Linked DNA regions of Homo sapiens: region 2 is linked to region 1. The links are contacts of gene promoters, found by promoter capture Hi-C in blood cells and fetal thymus (Javierre and others, 2016). All regions are on one chromosome and are shown on one strand. Each heading gives the region's core, a stretch centred on a gene start or on the middle of the fragment in contact. The rest is flanking DNA. Distances are from core to core; before and after follow the strand shown.

What was found. The method cuts DNA at HindIII sites, captures the fragments that hold promoters and counts their contacts. A CHiCAGO score of 5 or more calls a contact.
Region 2: a contact is called between a fragment that was not itself captured here and the fragment with the promoter of ZNF433 in region 1, in 1 of 17 cell types (erythroblasts). The highest score is 6.4, in erythroblasts.

Annotation. Positions count from the first base shown.
Region 1 is chr19:12,032,928-12,040,003 of GRCh38, forward strand. ZNF433 (zinc finger protein 433) reads right to left here and starts at 2,752. Exons shown (of 4, transcript NM_001308348.2): 1 at 2,610-2,752. The coding sequence starts at 2,612. ZNF433-AS1 (ZNF433 and ZNF878 antisense RNA 1) reads left to right here. Exons shown (of 3, transcript NR_134929.1): 2 at 2,627-2,845. RefSeq lists silencers at 2,287-2,406, 2,417-2,466, 2,707-2,866. The HindIII fragment of the contact is 7,472 bases long and covers 1,798-7,076 here.
Region 2 is chr19:12,185,028-12,192,419 of GRCh38, forward strand. ZNF136 (zinc finger protein 136) reads left to right here. Exons shown (of 4, transcript NM_003437.5): 2 at 758-884; 3 at 1,087-1,147; 4 at 1,543-4,844. The coding sequence ends at 2,974. Among named protein-coding and RNA genes, the nearest start is that of ZNF136, 26 kb to the left of the region's middle. The HindIII fragment of the contact is 722 bases long and covers 1,238-1,959 here.

The DNA of each region.
Region 1 (7,076 bases), core at 1,502-4,001:
GGGGCAATGCTGACTAGAAAGAACACAGTGATGTTTGACTCAAGTGTCAGGCCATCCTATCACATGGGACATTTCTCTGTGCCCATCCTGCTCACTGAAGTGCTGAGTGACTATTTTCCAACAACACTGCACTGTGCCCCTGTGTGCCCCAAGTGCATTTCCTTTTTTTTTTTTCCCCTCTCTTGAGACAGAGTCTCACTCACTTGCCCAGGCTGGAGTGCAGTGGTGCGATGTCCGCTCATTGCAGAATCCACCTCCCAGGTCCAAGCAATTCTCAGGCCTCAGCCTCTGGAGTAGCTGGGACTACAGGTGTGTGCCATCACACCTGGCTGATTTCTTTTGTATTTCTAGTAGAGCCAAGGTTTCACCATATTGGCCAGGCTGGTCTCAAACTCCTGGCCTCAAGTGATCTACCCACCTCAACCTCCCAAAGTGTTGGGATTATAGGCATGAGCCACTGCACCTGGCCAGTGCATTTTCATTTACGAGGCTGAGGCAGGAGAATGGCATGAACCCGGGAGGTGGAGCTTGCAGTGAGCAGAGATTGTGCCACTACACTCCAGCCTGGGCGACAGAGCGAGACTCCGTCTCAAAAAAACAAAAACAAAAAACGGGCCAGGCGCAGTGACTCACACCTGTAATCCCAGCACTTTGGGAGGCCAAGGCGGGTGGATCACAAGGTCAGGAGATCAAGACCATCCTGGCTAACACAGTGAAACCCCGTCTCTACTAAAAATACAAAAAATTAGCCAGGCGTGGTGACGGGCTCCTGTAGTCCCAGCTACTTGGGAGGCTGAGTCAGGAGAATGGCGTGAACCCGGGAGGCGGAGCTTGCAGTGAGTAGAGATCGCGCCACTGCACTCCAGCCTGGGTGACAGAACAAGACTCTGTCTCCAAAAAAAAACAAAAACAAAAACAAATAGTTGATACTACAAATTGAAGAAGGAGAGTTGGTGTCTGCAAATTTTAGAAAGGAACTGAAATTTTAGTATTGTACTGCAAGCTCTCCAGAGGTAGGCCAGGGTCACAGGGTGGAGGGTTTGAGATCTCACTTCCCATATATTTGGAAAATGCAGAGAAGTACCAGTTAACTGGGGAGTGTTGAAAATTTTGAATAAGAAGTAATTAAACTTAATGCCTATAGTACTCTAAGATCTTGGCCAAGAACATGGAAATCAAATTCAAATGCTATTCATATAAAGTACTAACTTATGTGACGGTATGTGGCCTGAGAAAACAATAACAAGTTACTAATTTATTGGGAAATGAAATATGGGCTTAACCAGGTACAATTGGTCGAGTAACCTCTGATTATACAACCAAAAATTTTCCACTGTATGGTCTGTGAAAATAAGTAATTCAAAAATTGAAGCTGTTGGAACTCTAAATTATCTTGAAGTTTAAAGTAATGTGACTCTGGAATTGAGTCACCTGACACTGGAAAGAGCCAGCTGGAACCCTCCCACACTTGACTACAGATTAACCATCAGACAGGCTTCACTATACCTGGACAGGCCTCATTATACCCGCTTCCTTTAGGAGTTTCCACATAGCCACTGACCCACCTTCATGTTAAAACAGACATCAGCCAACTGGAAACACAGACTCTCTGTGACAATAAGAAACCAAATTACAAACAAGACCTAAGGCCATGCAAGGCAAGAGGTAAGTCAAATCTTAGAATTCACAAAATCTAAAGAAACAGGTCTTTTGTTTTGGGTGGGATGAAATCATATGACAGATACCAGACCCTCTTCACTTAAGCAATCCTTCCTACCGCCTCGAAGTTTTAGACAAAGCTTCACACTCTCCACCAACGGCCACCTTCAGAATCCCTCAACCACCTGCACCTTCTAACCCCCCTTCCACAGGTCCCGCCCTTTCTGCCAAAGGAACTTACACCTTTCCAGGCATTGATGCATGATTCTCCCTGCAATTCCTGTCTCCCTGAAATGAATAAAAACAGTCTTGAGCCGCCTCGGGACCACTTACTTCAGGCCTCCTGGGGTTGTGTTTTCCTCAGCTGAGGCCTCTCCTATTCGGCTCTGAATAAACTTCTTTAAGTTATTTTACACAGCTTGGCATTTTCCGTTAACAAATTACAAGCCAGGACTGGGTGTTTATCATTCAGGAATCTCAAAGGAACTCTAATTATTAATATATTTTTTAAAACCTATTCTGAGAAGCAAAACTATAATTGTTAACGTGTCTCAGTTTAATTTTTAAGAGGAGAAAGGCGCTACTGGGGACCCCACAGCCCACCCTCCTCCTACACAAACCCCCACACCCGAGGCGGGATCCCCCCATGACCCTCGCGTAGTCCCCGCACAATGTGGGGAGACGCGGGGCAGCGGGCGCGGAGCTGCCCAGAGAGGGCTCTGGGAACTGGGTGACAGTCACCGCGCAGGGACAGGACGAGACGCCCGGGTCCCGGCGGCCGGCCCAGCCCCACTGTGGGGCCAAGGGGACCAAGGGCCGAGCTGTCCCACGGGAAATCGGGTCCCAGACCCCGGAGTCGCCGCGGGGAGGCCCGGGTCCCACCACAGCCGGTTCCGGCCGGTTCCAACCAGCTCCTCCCCCGCCTCGGGACCCCTGGCCCGCACGCTCACCATTTCTTGCCTTTCAGGTGACTCCCACGACCAGTGCGGGTCACAGCACAGGCGACAGAAGCTATGGCAGAGGCACCTGAACCCTCTCGGAGGGGAAAGCCAGGCTCCCAACCTCAGCTCGCCGCCTGGAGCCGGGAACCGAGGAGAGCAGGGCCTTCGCCCTCCCCGATGGACACTCGGCAGGCCCCGCCCAGCGCCCCTGATTGGACGAAGCGCCGGGCCCCGCCCCCTCAGCCGTGAGTGACAATAGAAGCCCTTGGTAACGGGGCTCTGAAAACGGGTTTGACCGGATCCAGCGATAGATTCTTTAAGCCAGAGGTCTGTAACCTTTTTAGCACCAGAACCGGTTTCGTGGAAGACAGTTCTCCTACGGGGGCAGATAGTTTCGGAATGAAACTTCCACCTCAGATCAGGCATTTTATCCTCATAAGGCGAACCCAACCTAGATCCCTCGCATGTGCAGCTCACAATAGGGTTCGGGCTCCTATGACAGACTAATGCCTCTGCTGATCTGACAGGAAGCATATCTCTGGCGATAATGCCCGCTGGCTCGCCCGCCAGCCGCTCACCTCCTGCTGTGCGGACTGGTTCCTTACAGGCCATGGACCGGGGGTTGGGGACCCCTGCCATAGAGTACTGTTGAATAGAAACTTTAGCTCGTCCGGCGGTGGGCTGGGGGGGTGGGGGTAGCTCATGCCTGTAACCCCACCACTTTGGGAAGCCAAGGCAGGCAGATTGCTTGAGCCTAGGAACTTAAGCCCAGCCTGGGTAACATAGCAAAACCCCGCCTCTACAAAAAATACAAAAATTAGTCGGGCGTGGTGGTACATGTTTGCAGTCCCAGCTACTCGGAAGGCTGAAATGAGAGGATCGCCTGAGCCCAGAGAGGTCGAGGCCACAGTGAGCTGTGATTTTACCAGCCTGGATGTCAGAGTGAGACCCTGTCTCCGAAAAAAAAAAAAAAAAAAAAGACAGGGAATTGCAGTGGAGTTTAATATACATAGAGCCGGCTAAATGAAAGAGAAGAGTTTTATTTTTATTCAATTCTGTCTCCCTAAAAAATGGGAGGCTAGGTTTTGTTTTTTTGGTTTTTTTTTGAGACGGAATCTCTCTGTCGCCCATGCTGGAGTGCAGTGGCGCAATCTCGGCTCAGTGCAACCTCCGCCTCCCGGGTTCAAGCGATTCTCCTGCCTCAACCTCCTGAGTAGCTGGGATTACAGGCATGCGCCACCATGCCCGGCTAATTTTTGTATTTTTAGTAGAGACGGGGTTTACCATGTTGGTCAGGCTGGTCTCAAACTCCTGACCTCATGATCCACCCGCCTCGGCCTCCCAAAGTGCTGGGATTACAGGCCTGAGCCCCCGCACCCGGCCGAGGCTAGGGTTTTAAAGATAATTTGGTGAGCAGAAGGCTGGAAAATGGGGAATGCTGATTGGTCGCGAAAAGGATATCACAGGAAGTCTCAGCTGTCTTCTTGCACTGAGTCAGTTCTTGGCTAGGGGCCACTGGAGCAGGTGAGCCAGTTTATTGGTCTGTGTGATGCCAGCAAATTTATCAGAATGAAGGGTCTCAAAAATACCTCAAACACCAATCTTAGGTCTTACAACAATAATATTATCCACAGGAGCAAGTGAGAAGGTTGGGAATCTTGTGTACTCTGGCCGCATATTTCCTGAACCATAATTTCTAATCTTGTGGCTAATTTCTTAGTTTTACAAAGGCAATCTGGTTCCCAAGCAAGGAGACAATTTCTTTACGGAAGCGGCAGTTATGACTTTTGCTTTAAAGCTAAACTAAACTCCTTCCAATATTAGTAAGACCTATACCCGGGAATGAACAAGGGTAGCTTGGAGGCTAAAGAAAAGATGGAGTTCGCTTAGATCTGATCTCTTTCACTGTCATAATTTTCTCACTGTTATAATTCTTGCAAAAGGGTTTTCAGATGTAGAGTCATACTTTTAGCTCCTGGCAACATTTATGTTGGAACTCTTATACAGCAACTAAATCACTGGAACAGGATAATTGGTTGAGGATTTACTAACTGCTCCATCAGGTGGAAGTGGCACTCCTTACTAATTTACCTGAAAGCACTATTTCCTGAGCCATGGAGACTGAGTATAGCAATGATATGTGATCTAAAGAAGTTCCCACTCTGCTTCTTCTCTGCAGTGAAGTCCTGCCAGGCACGTTACTACTTCCACTGCCACTTTTTCCTCCTCCAAATGTGGCTAAGCAATTACTTCCCTTATGGAAGACTGTACAAAGATGAAAACATGGCTAGGTTGATGGGGTCACTCTGAGACAAGGTAGACTTATGTTATACTTTTTGCAAAGGTGACTTCAGATATGGAATCATAATTTTAGCTGCTGGCAGCAATGATGTTGGAATTCATATACAGACACTAAATGACTGGAAAAGGACAATTGGTTGAAGGTTTACTAATTGTTCCCTCAAGAGGAAGTGCCATTCCCTATTGATTTAATTGACAGCACTATTTCCTCAGCCATGGAAACTGAGTACAGCAATAATATGTGATCTAAAGAACATTCCACTCTGAGGGCCAGATGCAGTGGCTCATGCCTATAATCCCAACATTTTAGGAGGCCAAGGCAGGCAGATCACGTGAGGTCAGGAGTTAAAGACCAGCCTTGCCAACACAGTGAAACCCCATCTCTACTAAAATCACACAAATTAGCTGGGTGTGGGCTGGGTTTGGTGGCTCACACCTGTAATCCCAGCACTTTGGGAGGTCGAGGTGGGCAGATCATCTGAGGTCAGGAAATCAAGACCAGCCTGACCAACATGGAGAAACTCCATCTCTATTAAAAATACAAAATTAGCTGGGCATGCTGGCACATGCCTGTAATCCCAGGTACTCGGGAGGCTGAGGCATGAGAATTGCTTGAACCTGGGAGGTGGAGGCTGCAGTGAGCTGAGATCGCGCCACTGCACTCCAGCCTGGGTGACAGCGTGAGACTCTATCTTCAAAAAAAAAAGGCTGGGCGCGGTGGCTCATGCCTGTAATCCCCACACTTTGAGAGGCCGAGGCGGGTGGATTACCTGAGGTCAGGAGTTCAAGACCAGCCTGGCCAACATGGTGAAACCCCGTCTCTACTTAAAATACAAAAAATTAGCCGGGCGTGGTGGTATGTACCTGCAATCCCTGCTACTCGGGAGGCTGAGGCAGGAGAATTGCTTGAACCTGGGAGGCAGAGGTTGCAGTGAGCCGAGATCGCACCACTGCACTCCAATCTGGGGGACAAGAGCGAGACTTCGTCTCAAAAACAAAACAAAAAAAAAAAACTTTCTACTCTGCTTCTTCCCTCTGGTAATGTTCTGCCAGGTACATTAGTACTTCCAGACACTTTTTCCTCCTCCAAAGGTAGCTAAGCAATTGTTATTTCCCTCATGGAAAACTAAGTATAAATGGGAATATAGCTAGACCAATGAGGTCATGCAGAGGCAAAGGAGACTTATGTTGTTTATCAAGTTTTCTTTTCAGTACCTTAATTTTCACTTCTATTTGTTTAATTTTTTATTTTTTTGGAGACAGAGCCTCACTCTGTCATCCAGGCTGGAATGTACTAGCGTGATCTCAGCTCACTGCAACCTCTACCTCCCGGGTTAAAGCAATCCTCTTACCTCAGCCTCCTGAGTAGCCGGGACCACAGGCCCGTGCCACCATGCCTGGCTAATTTTAGTGTTAGTTTGTAGACACAAATTCTCACTATGTTGCCCAGGCTGGTCTTAAACTCCTGGGCTCCAGCAATCTGCCCACTTTGACCTCTCACACAGTGCTGGGATTGATTACAGGCCTGAGCAACCATGCCCGGCCTTCATTTCTACTTTTTGATTATTTTAAAATTTATTTATTTTTCTTTATTTTTAGAGACAAGATCTTCCTACCTAGTCCAGACTGGGGAACAGTGCAGCATTAAACTAATCCTCCTGACTCAGCTTCCTGACAAGCAGTGACCATAGACACATGCCACCACACCTGGATATTTTACAAAATTAACAGTACCTAAATATGGCCGGGCAGGGTGGCTCACTCCTGTAATCCCAGCACTTTGGGAGGCCGAGGCAGGTGGATCACCTGAGGTCAGGAGTTCGAGACCAACCTGGACAACATGGTGAAACCTCGTCTCTACTAAATATACAAAAATTATCTGGGCGTGGTGGCGGGCACCTGTAATCCTAGCTACTCAGGAGGCTGAGGCAGGAGAATCACTTGAACCCGGAAGGCGGAGGTTGCAGTGAGCCAAGATCATGCCACTTCACTCCAGCCTGGGCAACAGAGCAAAACTATGTCTTAAAAAAAAAAAAAAAAAAAAAAAAAAACTGGCCAGGCGCGGTGGCTCACGCCTGTAATCCCAGCACTTTGGGAGGCCAAGGCTGGCAGGTCAGGAGGTCAGGAGTTCGCGACCAGCCTGGCCAACATAGTGAAACCCCGTCTCTACTAAAA
Region 2 (7,392 bases), core at 349-2,848, 150 kb after region 1:
TTAACAGTACTGGTCTTTGTGGATCAGTGCTAACTCATAGGCAGTACACCCAGAGTCAGCAACATATGGTCTCTTGGCAACTATATTTATACCCACTTTCAATTATATGCAAATTAAGTGGTGGGTTATTTAAAACTTTCTAAGGAAGGAATGATAACTTTCAGGTCATTGCCATGGCATTTGTAAGCTGTCATAGCATTGGTGGGAGTGTTTTATGCTAATGAGCAGTGAGAGCATCTAGAGATCGCTGTTCTTGTCGTCTGCTGGTTTTGGCCCCTTTCTTTACTTTATCCTACCTGTGCCAGATCTTGTTTTGGCCAGTAGGGTTGTGATCAGAATACAAGTCCTGTTGGTCTCCTACCTCAGATGAATGTTGTGAGGAGTGAGGAGCCTTTTTTTAAGGGTAAGCAGTCTCAGGACTGCTAATATAAACTCTTTTGCATAGTAGGTGGTAGGACTTCGTTATGACAGGTTCTACAGGTCCACTGTATGAGCAGACATTAGCTGGGACTCAGGCAGCACGTATTACTCCTTGCAACCACCACCAAGAAAGATGATCAGACACTGCTATTGTTCTACCCGATAGTTCCATTCTAGTATGAGAGTTGCTGTGTGGAAGGAAGTGAGTATGATGACCAAACAGTGGAGTAAATGTTTGCAGACCCCTGAAACATGTGAACTTCTTATGAATTGAGTACAGCTCCCCAGCCCTGTCTGTCTCACCCATTCTCCTCTCCACATATGTGGGATGTTTCAGGACTCGGTGGCTTTTGAGGATGTAGATGTGAACTTCACCCAGGAGGAGTGGGCTTTGCTAGATCCTTCCCAGAAGAATCTCTACAGAGATGTGATGTGGGAAACCATGAGGAATCTGGCCTCTATAGGTAAGGATTGTATACTTCCATCACTTAGCAATTAAAGAAGAAGTGCTTCTTGTGCAGTGATGCTGTTCCATGGTTTGCATCATGGAGGGAGAGTACTTGGGGGGCTAAAACAGGCATAGTCACAGGGTATCATGAACCTAGAATCTAATAATTTTTCTATAATTTTGCACTAATTCAGAATTTTTCTGGGTCTCTGTTTTAGGGAAAAAATGGAAGGACCAGAACATTAAAGATCACTACAAACACCGAGGGAGAAATCTAAGGTAATTTGTACTCAGAGAAAGCAAATTCACTTGAAAGTACCTTAGCATGTCATGAAATTTTAAAAACAGGCAAACATAACTGATAAGCCAAGCTTCAAATTGATTTATTTTTTGAATATTTTCCCCAAATACATATTCTTCAGTGTAAACAGATGTTCAGTTTTTATAAAAATGTTCATTTGTCAACAGAATTAAGAAACTATTTAAGAATATCACTGTTTGAGTGATAGTTGCGGTCAAGCCCATTGCAGAGCATTGAATTCATTCATGCTCAAACAAATCAGACTTGGCATCGAGTCTACGCTTTACCTGATAATATTGAAAATGCAAGTTTAATAGCTATTAATATAAAATGATTAACAAATCCTTAGTAATGTCCGTCTCATTTTTTACAGAAGTCATATGTTAGAAAGACTCTATCAAACTAAGGATGGTAGTCAGCGTGGAGGAATTTTTAGCCAGTTTGCAAATCAGAATCTGAGCAAGAAAATCCCTGGAGTGAAACTCTGTGAAAGCATTGTATATGGAGAAGTCAGCATGGGTCAGTCATCCCTTAATAGACACATCAAAGATCACAGTGGACATGAACCAAAGGAATATCAGGAATATGGAGAGAAGCCAGATACACGTAACCAGTGTTGGAAACCCTTCAGTTCTCACCACTCCTTTCGAACACATGAGATAATTCACACTGGAGAGAAACTCTATGATTGTAAGGAATGTGGAAAAACCTTCTTTTCTCTCAAAAGAATTAGAAGACACATCATCACACACAGTGGATATACACCATATAAATGTAAGGTGTGTGGGAAAGCTTTTGATTATCCCAGTAGATTTCGAACACATGAAAGAAGTCACACTGGAGAGAAACCCTATGAATGTCAGGAATGTGGAAAAGCCTTCACTTGTATCACAAGTGTTCGAAGACACATGATAAAGCACACTGGAGATGGACCTTATAAATGTAAGGTATGTGGGAAACCCTTTCATTCTCTGAGTTCATTTCAAGTGCATGAAAGAATTCACACTGGAGAAAAACCCTTTAAATGTAAGCAATGTGGTAAAGCCTTCAGTTGTTCCCCAACCTTACGAATACATGAAAGAACCCATACTGGAGAGAAACCTTATGAATGCAAGCAGTGTGGGAAGGCCTTCAGTTATCTCCCCTCCCTTCGACTACATGAAAGAATTCACACTGGTGAGAAACCCTTCGTATGTAAACAATGTGGTAAAGCCTTTAGATCTGCCAGTACCTTTCAAATACATGAAAGGACTCACACTGGAGAAAAACCTTATGAATGTAAGGAATGTGGGGAAGCATTCAGTTGTATCCCAAGTATGCGAAGACACATGATAAAACATACTGGAGAAGGACCTTATAAATGTAAGGTATGTGGGAAACCCTTTCATTCTCTGAGTCCATTTCGAATACATGAAAGAACTCACACTGGAGAGAAACCTTATGTATGTAAACATTGTGGTAAAGCTTTCGTTTCTTCAACATCAATTCGAATACATGAAAGAACTCATACTGGAGAGAAACCCTATGAGTGTAAGCAATGTGGGAAAGCCTTCAGTTATCTCAACTCCTTTCGAACACATGAAATGATTCACACTGGTGAGAAACCCTTTGAATGTAAGCGATGTGGTAAAGCCTTTAGATCTTCTAGTTCCTTTCGACTACATGAAAGGACTCACACTGGACAGAAACCCTATCATTGCAAGGAATGTGGGAAAGCCTATTCTTGCCGTGCCAGCTTTCAGAGACACATGTTAACACATGCTGAAGATGGACCACCTTATAAATGCATGTGGGAAAGCCTTTAATGCTCTGGGTTCATGTCAGATACATTAAAATACTCACTGAAGAGAAGCCCTATGAATGTAAGTAACGTGGGAAAGCATGAAATTCTGTCAGTGCCTTTTTTAATACATGAAAGAATTCTAGAGAGAAGCCATATACATGTAAGTAACATGGGAAAGCTTTCAATCATTTTAGTTCCTTTCAAATACATGAAAGAACTCATCATGGAGAAAACCAAACAAATGCTTTTTGGAAAGGAACCCATATTTGAGAGAAACCCTGGGTAAAGGGTGTAGGAAAGGTTTTGTCATCACACAACCCTGTCACACATGAATGTGTAGTGGAGAGAACCTTGGTAAATGTAAAGAGTGTGGGAGAGCCTTTAGTCATTTTAGTTCCACTTGAAGCCATGAAAGAACACACAAAAGAGAAAGCTCTTGAATATAAGCAATGTCCACACGTTTTTAGCCAGCCCACATGCTTTCAACAACATGTAAGAATGTACCCTGGATCAAAACACTATAAATGTGAAAACTACAAGGAAGGTTTTCCATTATACTTTTAAAGTCATTTGAGGGCTCTGGCTCTGTGGCTTTGTGGGTTAAAGTACTTGTCTGGCAAACAGGAGATGCTGGATTTCAATCCCAGCAGGGCCTCACTAGTTGAGGTATTGAATTTGAACAGATGTTTTGGCTCTGGCTGGGTGTGGTGGCTCACACCTGTAATCCCAGCACTTTGGGAGGCTGAGGCAGGAGGATCACTTGAGGTCAGGAGTTTGAGACCAGTGTGCAAAACATAGCAAGACCTCATCTCAGAAAAAAAAAAAAAGTCATTTGAAAACTTCTAATACAGCAAAATCCTATAAATGTAAGTACTTCAAAAAGCCTCATGCATAGCGGGTCATGTAGTCTCTAGAAAATACATAACCTGATGGAAATGTAGAAGCTATATGTATATTTTGTTAATTAGTGGCTCATATTTAAAATAGTTCTCTGACTATGGATTTCAAATGCTTAATCTCACAAAGAAATGTTAAATTGATATAATCCTGTAAGTAATCTGAAAGCAATAGTGCATGAATTTCATAGGTAGTGTTGTTTTAGGTCAGTAAATAAAATATTTGTCTTTCCATTTTGAAATGTGTTTAATCCAACAATGAATTTAAATGTGTTTCTCATATTCAGGTATGTTAAATTGTATATGGTTGCTTAATTGTTCTGTGATTGAGGACCACTGAAAAATAAGTCTTAATAAATGTTGGTATGAACCTACTTGCTTCATTTAGCAGGTTCTTGATTCCCTTTCCACATTATATACATTCCATCATATTTATTGGAACAGCTCCTTTTTTTTCCTTTTTTCTTTTTTCTTTCTTCTTTTTTCTTTTTGAGACAGGGTCTCGCTCTGTGCTCTGTTGCCCAAGCTGGAGTACAGTGGCATGATCTCGGCTCATTGCAACCTCTGCCTTCTGGGTTCAAGTGATTCTCCCACCTTAGCCTCCTAGGAAGCTGGGACTACAGGCATGTGCCACCACACCTGGCTAATTTTTTGTATTTCTAGTAGAGATGGGGTTTCACCATGTTGGCCAGGCTGGTAGAACTCCTGACCTCAAGTGATCCACCCACCTCAGCCTCCTAAAGTCTGGGATTACACGTGTGAGCCATCACACCTAGCCCATTTTTTTTTTCTTGGCTCAAATAATTTTATTTTGCTTCCTATTAAAGAGTTGTTGTTAATTCTAAGTATGTAAAGTTTATCACAGACTGTAGTCTCGTGAATTATTATTTTAACCTGTTGTTCTTTACTCCTTGTTATTTATTCTGGCTGCTCTTTGTATAATTGATTTTGGGATAAGGAGACAGCTATGATAGAATAATAAAATCTAAAATGGGAGATGCCTTTCATGGATTGTGTCATGTCAATCTGGGTAATGGGAACTAAACTTTTCAGACTTCATTTCTTTCTTTCTTTCTGAAATAGGGTCTCACTCTGTCACTCAGGCTGGAGTGCAGTGGCACGACTGTGGCTCACTGTAACCTCAAACTCTGGAGCTCAGGTGGCCTTCCGACCTCAGCCTCCCAAATGGCTGGAACTATAGGTATGTGCCACCAAGCCCAGCTAATCTTTTTATTTTTGGTTTTTCATCTTTTTTTTTTTTTGTAGAGATGGTGTCTTGCTATGTTGCCCAGACTGGTCTCAAACTCCTGGCCTCAAGTCACCCTCTAGCCTCAGCCTCTTAAAGCACTAGGATTACAGGCATAAGCCACTGTGCCTGGCCCAGAATTTCTTTCTTTCATGGTTACCTGTAGACTGCATCAATAGCCTAAATTCCTGGAAGTTTAGAATGCAGAAGTGAAGAACGCATTAGTCAGATTTTGGAGGCATCATACGGAGAGACAGATGCATATGGGCTGTTTGGACATGGTCATCTAGCCCATTTTCCTGATTCTTTGCCCTGCCAATCAAGAGTATCCTCAGCCGGGTGTGCTGGCTCACACCTGTAATTCTAGCACTTTGGGAGGCCAAGGCGGTCGGATCACCTGAGGTGAGGAGTTCGAGACCAGCGTGGTCAACATGGTGAAACCCCATCTCTACTAAAAATACAAAAATTAGCTGGGTGTGGTGTCGCGTGCTTATAGTCCCAGCTGAGGCAGGAGAATCGCTTGAGCCAGGGAGGTGAAGGTTGCAGTGAGCCAAGATCATGCCACTGCACTCCAGCCTGGGTGACAGAGTACAGAGTAAGACCCTGTCTCAAAAAAAAAAAAAAAAAAAAAAAAAAGAGTATCCTCTAATCCACCACTAGCTACTTCACCTCCATGTTCTCAAAGTTATGGATTTCCATAGATGTTTTTAAAAGCTTCATATCAAAGATTCAGCTGCCATTTGGATATTCCTGAAGGCCCTAATATATCTGCCAAGTAATCAGTTCATATTGTCATTGTTGGGAATAGTCTGATGATCTGACTTGGTTCCTGTACGGTCCAGTTTGTACATAAACATTTTTGTCCATAGGGACAGTGAGTGTTACTGATGCAGGTTGAGAGCTACAATGGCACTATCCAAAAACAAAACGAAAAACCCTACATGGAGCTTGTTCCTCTGCTGCATTATGCAGAGATGGGTCTCACCCCGTTCTTTCATGTGAGAATAAGCACCTTATTCATTATAGAAACATTGTGGGTGTTTCCTGTTACTCATAGCTGAATGCAGTCCCTCAGTTTATTTTGAATTATGTTTGAGTACATATGATTACAAACAATATACATGTCCTCCTCAAACAAAAGTTCTCTACACATTTCTTAGAAATATTAACAGTATGCAAGCAACTTGCATACTGTCTGGTGAGTTTTGTATTTATTGAGAATATATATTAAAATATCCCATTCCAATCATGGATCCGATAAACTTTATAATTAAGCTATTTGTCCAACATTGTGAGTCAATATTACTGTGAGCTTACAACTTCAGGCCTTTTTTTCCTCATAAATTTTAGTTTTCATGCTTATTTGATTACAACTTTTATGATGATAGTAGTTTTTCATATGCATAATACCAAAAGTCAAATCATGTTGTGAGTGATTTCTTTCCAAGGACTATCAGGGACGTCCCTGTTGTCAAGCAGGGTGTAATAAATTGTGGTAATAAATACTACCACAGGCCGGGCGCGGTGGCTCACCCTGTAATCCCAGCATTTTGGGAGGCCAATGCGGGCAGATCACTTGAGGCCAGGAATTGGAGACCAGCCTGGACAACATAGCAACACCCTGTCTCTACTAAAAATACAAAAATTAGCCTGGTGTGGTGGTGCACATCTGTAATCCCAGCTACTTGGGAGTGGAGGTTGCAGTGAGCCAAGCACGCCACTGCACTCCAGCCTGGGCAACAGAGTGAGACTCTCTCAAAAAATAAAAAAATAATAAATACCACCACAAACCAGTAATGACTGTAAGGTGTATCAATAAGAGGGTATTTAAAAGAATTTATTGCAGAACTTATGCTGCTTTTTGGTTGCTTGATTCCTATTTAAGGAAGCAAAAAATTTCTCTGTATTTGATATAGTGAAGAGGTGAACTTAATTCTACCCTTGGTAATTCTTTTTATTTTTGAGACGGAGTCTTGCTCTGTCACCCAGGCTGGAGTGCAGTGGCGCAATCTCAGCTCACTGCAAGCTCCGCCTCCCGGGTTCACGCCATTCTCCTGCCTCAGCCTCCCGAGTAGCAGGGACTACAGGCACCCACCACTACGCCCGGCTAATTTTTTGTATTTTTAGTAGACGGGGTTTCACCGTGTTAGCCAGGATGGTCTCGATCTCCTGACCTCGTGATCCACTGGCCTCGGCCTCCCAAAGTGCTGGGATTACAGGCATGAGCAACCGCGCCCGGCCCTAGTAATTCTTTTTTTTTTTTCTTTTGTGAGACAGAGTCTTGCTCTGTTGCCCAGG